Linked DNA regions of Homo sapiens: region 1 is linked to region 2. The links are contacts of gene promoters, found by promoter capture Hi-C in blood cells and fetal thymus (Javierre and others, 2016). All regions are on one chromosome and are shown on one strand. The core of a region is centred on a gene start or on the middle of the fragment in contact, and the rest is flanking DNA. Distances in the headings are between cores, read along the strand shown.

Region 1 (3,650 bases), core at 815-3,314, 220 kb after region 2:
GGGGCGGGCACAGGGCACGGAGTGTAACAGAGGCGGGACTTCGAGTGACAGGAACCTCAACTATGTGGTGACTCAGGCTCTGGGCAGCCTAGGCCCTTCCTTCCCTGCTCAGCCTGATCTCCTTCAACTGGACTTAGGGAACTGTAAGCAGAGGAGAGAGGGAAACCCAGGCTGGTCTCTCTTTCCCCAGGAAGCTGGGGGAAAGGCAGAGGAAGTTGGAAAGGACAGGAGAAAAGCAGATTCCAAGAAAGGGGTGAGGAGGTGGTGTTCCCCGCTTCCTCAGCCCCTCCCTCCCTGCTCCCCACTGGGGAGGGGAGCTGGCTGGGGCGTTGGCTGCTCCGTTTACTCCAACTCCCTCCCTCGGCTCCTGTTTACAACTCAGCCCGCCCAGTCCTTAGCTCAGTGCTGAGCTCTTCTGTTTTCTCTCTCTCCCTCCCTCCTTCCTTCACAGCCTCATGTCTTGTCGCTTCTTTTCCTTAATCTCAGGTCTGCATCTCCTCTTATTGCCCCACAGCATTCCCACACCCCTAACTCTGCCTGAAATCCAGCCATGACCCATCGTGTCCACCTGCCCCACTCTCCCTGCCCAATTTCTTTCCCTTCCACCTGCCTGGACAGTCTTTCTTTGCCTTCTTTCCTCCCAGACGGTACTCTGGAGACAGCCTCATGTCTCTTGTTCTCTAACCAGCTTTAACTTGGGTTCTGGTTGGGCTTGAAGATTTCATTAGGACTGAGTGTAATTGGAGAGTTTCTGTGTATCAAAGCTCTCTGATCTAAGAAATTCAGGAACTCCTTATTTGAAGCTTGAAGTTTAAATACAGGCTGGGATTTGAATTGAGCTGGGGAAGGATGATTTTACTTGGCTTTATATTTTCGGCTAGGGTTAAGGGTTTGGGGCTTGAGAATTGCTTAGGAAATAATGTTTGGATTCCAGAATCACCAGATAGATTTGCTTTTGGGGGGTGGGGTGGACAATGACAGATTAGGAAGTGACGGAAGTGAATGGAGAAGGGCCTGTTTGGCAGGGATGCTAATCCCTGGGCTGGTGTGTGTATGGGGTGGAGGCGGGGTCTGGGAGATCCCAGATGGTGCTAAGAAGGGTTAACAGTCATTTCTTTGCTGCTGCTGCTGCTTTTTTTTTTTTTTTTTTTGAGACAGAGTTTTGCTCTTCTTGCCCATGCTGGAGTGCAATGGCGCAATCTCGGCTCACTGTAACCTCCGCCTCTCAGGTTCAAGCAATTCTTCTGCCTCAGCCTCCCGAGTAGCTGGGATTACAGGCGTGCACCACCACGTCCGGCTAATTTTGTATTTTTTGTAGAGACGGGGTTTCACCAGGTTGGTCAGGCTGGTCTCGAGCTGCTGACCTCAAGTGATCCACCCGCCTTGGCCTCCCAAAGTGCTGGGATTACAGGCGTGAGCCACCAGGCACAGCCCATTTTTCTGCTTCTAAGAATATCATGCAAAAGAACCTTCATGGGGGGAAAAGTCTGCTTCTAAAGAGACTGCAAACAGACCACACACTTCATTTGCCTTCTGGGATCAGAAACTGAGATTACCCTTTGAGCAGTCAACCTCTTTTCTTCCTTGTAACATGCTGATTTCAGAAAAGGGGACTGTGGAGAGAAGGGAGGGGAAGGGGAATCCCCTGGCCAGGGGCCTGCCCACAGAGCTCCCCTTTGTGGTTACTATGGAAACAGGCATAATAGGAACAAAATAGAGGCAGGTTGCCTGGCAACAGAAGAGCCCAAGGTTCATTACAGACGCGCGCACACACACACAAACTGACATATACACACACACGCAAAACAGGTACATATCAGGGAACCTCCCCCACTCCCCAGGGAGGCAGTGTCACTTCTGGGGAAGCTGGGGTATCCCTGTGATGACAAGTCCTAGAGCTCATCCAGCTTTGGCAGTGCGTGTGGAGCACTGTGGTACCAGCTCCCTCTGAATGGTGGTGGAGCACTAGCGGCAGGGCTGACCTCCCTCTTATAAGAGGAAAGCCTTTACTTTATATCACAGAGGAGTCTAAACCTTCGAGAAGATGGAGGTTTTCTTTGCAAAGTAGGGACCGAAAGAACTCCTTAATACTCCTTATAAAACATGGTGTGTAAAAACAAACAAAAAACAGGCCAGGTGTGGTGGCTCACGCTTGTAATCCCAGCACTTTGGGAGGCTGAGGCAAGCGGATCATGAGGTCAGGAGTTCGAGACCAGCCTGGCTAGCATGGTGAAACTCCGTCTCTACTAAAAATACAAAAATTAGCCAGGCGTGGTGGCGCGTGCCTATAATCCCAGCTACTTGGGAGGCTGAGGCAGGAGAATCGTTTGAACCCAGGAGGCAGAGGTTGCAGTGAGCCAAGATGAGCCAAGATCGTGTCACTGCACTCCAGCCTGGGCGACAGAGCTAGACTCCATCTCAAAACAACCACCACCACCACCACCACAACAACAAAACAACAAAAACACCCAAAACATAGTGTGTCGGGGGGGTGCTGGCGGGGGAGTAGCTGTGTAAATTACCTGGTAGGAAAGATAACTCCAATTCTCTGGAGGCATAGGACCTCCAAGGAATTCAAAGGACAAGGTAAAGGGGTATCGGAGCCGTTTCCGCCTGGACTGAGCTTTTTGCTGGGATTCCATCTTGCCAAGGTCTCTATTGCTTCCACCACCACCACAGTTCCCCAACCCCATATTGGACACACAATAAATGTTTGGGTAGCTGCAAGAAAGACCCACAAGTAGAGGAATTGCTCCCTGGGGGCTGAGAGCCAGAGGAAGTTGTGACAGCCTGGGATGCAGGATGCTATCTATTGTAGAAAAGGCAAGGGCTTTGGAGCCAGTTATACCTGGAGTTCATTCATTCATTTGAAACATGCTCTTGAGTGATTGCTATGTGTCAGTCAGTGCTCTAGGCATGAGGGGCCAGGGTGCGGTGGCTCACACCTATAATCCCAGCACTTTGGGAGGCTGAGGTGGGAGGATTGCTCAAGCCCAGGAGTTCAAGACCAGCCTGGGCAACATAGTGAGACCCTATCTCTACCAAAAAAAAAAAAAAAAATTAGCTGAGCATGATGGTGTGTGTCTGTAGTCCCAGCTACTTGGGAGACTAAGGTGGGAGGATCACTTGAGCTTGAGAGGTTGAGGCTGCAGTGAGCCATGAATGCTCCACTGCACTCCATCCTGGGCGACAGAGTGAGACTGTCTCAAAAAAAAACAAGCAAAAAACCAAAACAAAACAAAAAATCAGTTAATCTAGGCACAAAGCATACAGCAGAGAAGAAAGAACCCTGTCCTCATGAGGCTTAAATGCTAGCGGAAGCTTTGACTCTTGCCTCTGTGAGTTGTGTGATTTTAGGTAAATCACGAACCCTTTCTGAGACCATTCCTCACTAAGTGCCTCCCTCCCAGGGTGTGCAAGGATTAAATGAGCTGACAGATGAAAGTAGCTCCTGACAAAGTGGCTCACACCTGTAATCCCAGCGCTTTGGGAGGCTGAAGTGGGCAGGGATCACCTGAGGTCAGGAGTTCGAGACCACCCTGGCCAACATGGTGAAACCCCATCTCTACTAAAAAATACAAAAATTAGCCAGGCATGGTGGCACACGACTGTAGTCCAGCTACTTGGGAGACTGAGGAAGGATAATCACT
Region 2 (3,994 bases), core at 572-3,071:
AAGATCGCACCACTGCACTCCAGCCTGGGCGACAGAGCAAGACTCCATCTCAAAAAAAAAAAAATTTGTAATTATAGGCCAGGCATGGTGGCTCACGCCTGTAATCCCAGCACTTTGGGAGGCCGAAGCTGGTGGATCACGAGGTCAGGAGATGAAGACCATCCTGGCTAACACGGTGAAACCCTGTCTCTACTAAAAATACAAAAAATTACCCAGGAGGCTGAGGCAGGAGAATCACTTGAACCCAGGAGGCAGAGGCTGCAGTGAGCCGAGATTGCACCACTGCACTCCAGCCTGGATGACAGAGCTAAACTCAGTCTCAAAAAAAACACAAAACAAAAAACAAAAACAAACAAAAAAAAAAGATCTTCTAAAAGAAAGAAAGAAGAACTATTCTTTTTTTTTTTTTTTGGAGATGATGTCTGATGTCTCACTCTGTCACCCAGGCTGGAGTGCAGTGGCTTGATCTCGGCTCACTAAAACCTCCGCTTCCCGAGTAGCTGGGATTACAGGCCTGTGCCGCCACACCTGGCTAATTTTTGTATTTTTAGTAGGGATGGAGTTTCGCCATGGTAGCCAAGCTGGTCTGGAACTCCTGACCTCAGGTGATCCGCCCACCTCGGCCTCCAAAGTGCTGAAATTACAGGCGTGAGAGCCACCGCACCTGGCCCGACGAGCTTTTTTTTTTTTTTTGGAGACACAGTCTCGCTCTGTCACCCAGGCTGGAGTACAGTGGCGTGATCTCGGCTCACTACAACCTCTGCCTCCCTGGTTCAAGCAATTCTCCTGCCTCAGCCTCCCGAGTAGCTAGGACTACAGGCATACGCCGCCATGCCCAGCTAATTTTTTGTATTTTTAGTAGAGACGAGGTTTCACCGTGTTGCCCAGGCTGGCCTCGAACTCCTGAGCTCAGGCAATCCAGGTGCCTCGGCCTCCCAAAGTGCTAGGATTACAGGCGTGAGCCACCGCGCCCGGCCACGAATAGCACTGTACTATGCCTGAGACACAGCTAAGTGCTTTATATGGATTACTTCACTATATTCTCAATAATAAGATATTATTATGTATTTCGTCTATTTCACAGGCAAGGAAATCAAACCTCAGAGGCTAAATGTTCCATGACTTCTCCAAGATCATGAAGTAAGCACTGAGTAAGTAGGGAGGGGGAGCAAGGACTCAACCCCTTGCTCCTAATCTTTACTCTATACCGCATTCAGGAGCCGCCAGCTGTATGGGGAACAAGGCCTGGATCCCACCCCAAAGACATGGATTGGAGACCCACCCCTTGGTGACCCTAGACCCGCCAATAGATCGTTGTGAAGCTGCAGTTTCCCTATCTGTAAAATGGGAGCATTTAGTCCACCAGCGCGAAAGGCACGGAGGGAGTTTCCCTATTATATGACCGTACACGAAATCTAGACTGTGACCAAAGTCTCCCGCTCCTCAGCCTCCTCTCCTCCGCATCCTCAGCCACTAGTCACGCTGGAGAGGAGGCGTGGGAACTGACCTCCGCGGGCCGGGCCTCGGCAACGCGCATCCTCCCACCCGGCCTAGCCCAGCCCAGATCGGGGAGGGGGTGCGCGGGGGGAGGAGGTCAGGGGTCACTGAACTTGGGTCACGTGGTCAGCCAAGGGGGCGGGCCCTCGCGGTGCGGGCTCCAAGACTGGTGAGTAAGCAGTCGGCGTCGGGAATGGGGAGTCCTTGGACCAGAGCAAGGCCTGCTCACCTGAAGACCCCGGCGTGGCGAAGGCTGCTACCGAGACGACGGCGGCGGGGGCGGTGGCGGCGGCGCCCACTCACGAGCTCACACTCATTCCCTCTCCCGGGGCCCCGGCCCCGCCCTCCCCAATACAGCCAGTCGGCGGGCGCCTTGGAAAGTTTCCGGCCCTCCAGGAGGCTTCCTGGCTCTTGATTGGCCAGTGTGAACAGACTGTAGAGACCGGCGGTCACGTGACGCTGAAGATTCCCGCTTCTTAAAGCAACCTCTCTTGCTACGTTTGCGAGTAGGTGTGTATTGTTTTAACACACGTTTAATAAGCATATTTTATTTTTTTTACCACCACAATAGTAACGAGGAAATAAACAGTCTCAAAGACAGCGTCTTGATTTTCTTTGTCTTGTTTGCTCGCGAGTTTCTGAGCACCCGCATTTTCGCGACTGCAGCAAAGCTTTAGATTTTGGTGTCTGGCTTAGTTTTCCTGCCCGGCCTACCTCCCCAACATCACATGCCACTTCCCCTTCCTGAAGGGATAGATGGGGCTCTCGGTAGGTGTTCTCGGCAGGCAGAAGGGACTTCTGACCCGGCCGAACATCCCGTGCAAGCTCCGGACTCCAGGGTTCTGCTCTTTCTGCACCTACTTCGCATTCTCCCCACGCCTGTGAACCAAATACAAGCCCTGGCCTACCTCGCCTTGCATGACCGTTGGACACGCACACTGACAGCTCTCTTTCTCCAACTCCCACTGCAATAGCAGCTACTTGGGCAGTTCTTAATTGATAAGCAGTGGGCTTAGTGAGTAAAGGATGGTATTTGGAATCAGACCGACCTGGGTTAAAATTCTGACACTGCCTTTGGGCAAATTACCTAATATGGAGTAATAATGCGCACTTCACAGGGTTGTTGTAAATTAATGTCTGTGAGAGTCCCTGGCAGAGTTGGAGGTTAAACTTCTTTCCCGGCCGGGCGCGGTGGCTCACGCCTGTAATCCCAACATTTTGAGAGGCCGAGGCGGGGGATCACCTGGGGTCGGGAGTTCAAGACCAGCCTGATCAACATGGAGAAAAATCCATCTCAACTAAAAATACAAAATTAGCCGGGTGTGTTGGCACATGCCTGTAATCGCAGCTACTCGGGAGGCTGAGGCAGGAGAATTGCTTGAACCCGGGAGGCGGAGGTTGTGGTGAGCCGAGATCGCGCCACTGCACTCCAACCTGGCCAACAAGAGTGAATCTCCGTCTCAAAAAAAAAAGAGAGAAACTTTCTTTCCCTCACATGTCACAAGGCATACAGTGAATTCCTTTAAGTTCACCCAAGATGGGGTAGTTTGCACTGAGTGAACTGTGGGAACATTCTGCAAGGGAGCATGAATGTACACATTTTTTCTCTTTCCCCCTCTCAGGGTTAGATGCTGCTGCCGCTGGAAAAGAAAATCCCCTGGGACCCGAGCTGGCAAAGCCAGATGGATGCGACTGTGGTTGCCATGGCAACCCCACCTAAGGAGAATGTGACCCTGCTGAGTCTCTTCCACTCATATTCAGAACCATATTAGAAGTGGTTTCAAGTGTCTGCCCACCTGTGCGTTAAGGGAAAGAGAGAGGGCGCTCTCCTCTAAGGTCTGACTGAGCCTGAAGTCAGCTTAGCCAGACCTGGGCAGCTGGCTGACCTCCTTGCTTAGGTTTACTGTTCTGGACAGCCATCAGCAACCTTGGAGACACTAGAAGATGGGAGGGAGACCGGGACTGCCCGGGACCTATTAGATGTAGTGAACCTGTATCCAACCTGTCTGGAGCTCATTTGCTCCCAATCTGAGTGGAGGCAGGAACCAGGGAAGGCAGTAGTGAGACCTCCATGGCCACAGATGGGAGAAAGGTGGCTCGCTCCACACACCCAATGCCTGGCAAGAACTATGATGGCTTTGGTGTCAGACTTTTTTTCTTTTTTCCTTTTTTTGAGACGGAGTAACACCCTGTTGCCCAGGCTGGAGTGCAGTGGCGCAATCTTGGCTCACTACAACCTCCACCTCCCAGGTTCAAATGATTCTCCTGCCTCAACCTCCCAAGTAGCTGGGATTACAGGCACTTGCCACTACCACCAGCTAATTTTTGTGTTTTTAGTAGAGACAGGGTTTTCACCATGTTGGCTAGGCTGGTCTCCAACTCCTGACCTTGTGATCCACCCGCCTCTGCCTCCCAAAGTGCTGGGATTACAGGCATGAGCCACTGTGCCTGGTCAAAGTCAGACTGTTTTTATTCATTTATTTTTATTTTTATTTAT

Evidence for each region. Contacts are between HindIII fragments. The CHiCAGO score rates a contact against its expected background, and 5 or more counts as called.
Region 1: a fragment that was not itself captured here is called in contact with the fragment with the promoter of TAF6L in region 2 in 1 of 17 cell types (activated CD4 T cells); the score reaches 5.4 in activated CD4 T cells.

The regions. Positions count from the first base shown.
Region 1 is chr11:62,550,020-62,553,669 of GRCh38, reverse strand. No RefSeq gene overlaps it. Among named protein-coding and RNA genes, the nearest start is that of AHNAK, 5.0 kb to the right of the region's middle. RefSeq lists a silencer at 1-9 and enhancers at 888-1,693, 1,694-2,499. The HindIII fragment of the contact is 2,518 bases long and covers 806-3,323 here.
Region 2 is chr11:62,769,223-62,773,216 of GRCh38, reverse strand. TAF6L (TATA-box binding protein associated factor 6 like) reads right to left here and starts at 1,821. Exons shown (of 11, transcript NM_006473.4): 1 at 1,727-1,821. It also overlaps a transcript of TMEM223 not described here. RefSeq lists enhancers at 1,232-1,371, 3,534-3,583 and a silencer at 1,562-1,971. The HindIII fragment of the contact is 6,431 bases long and covers 1-2,170 here.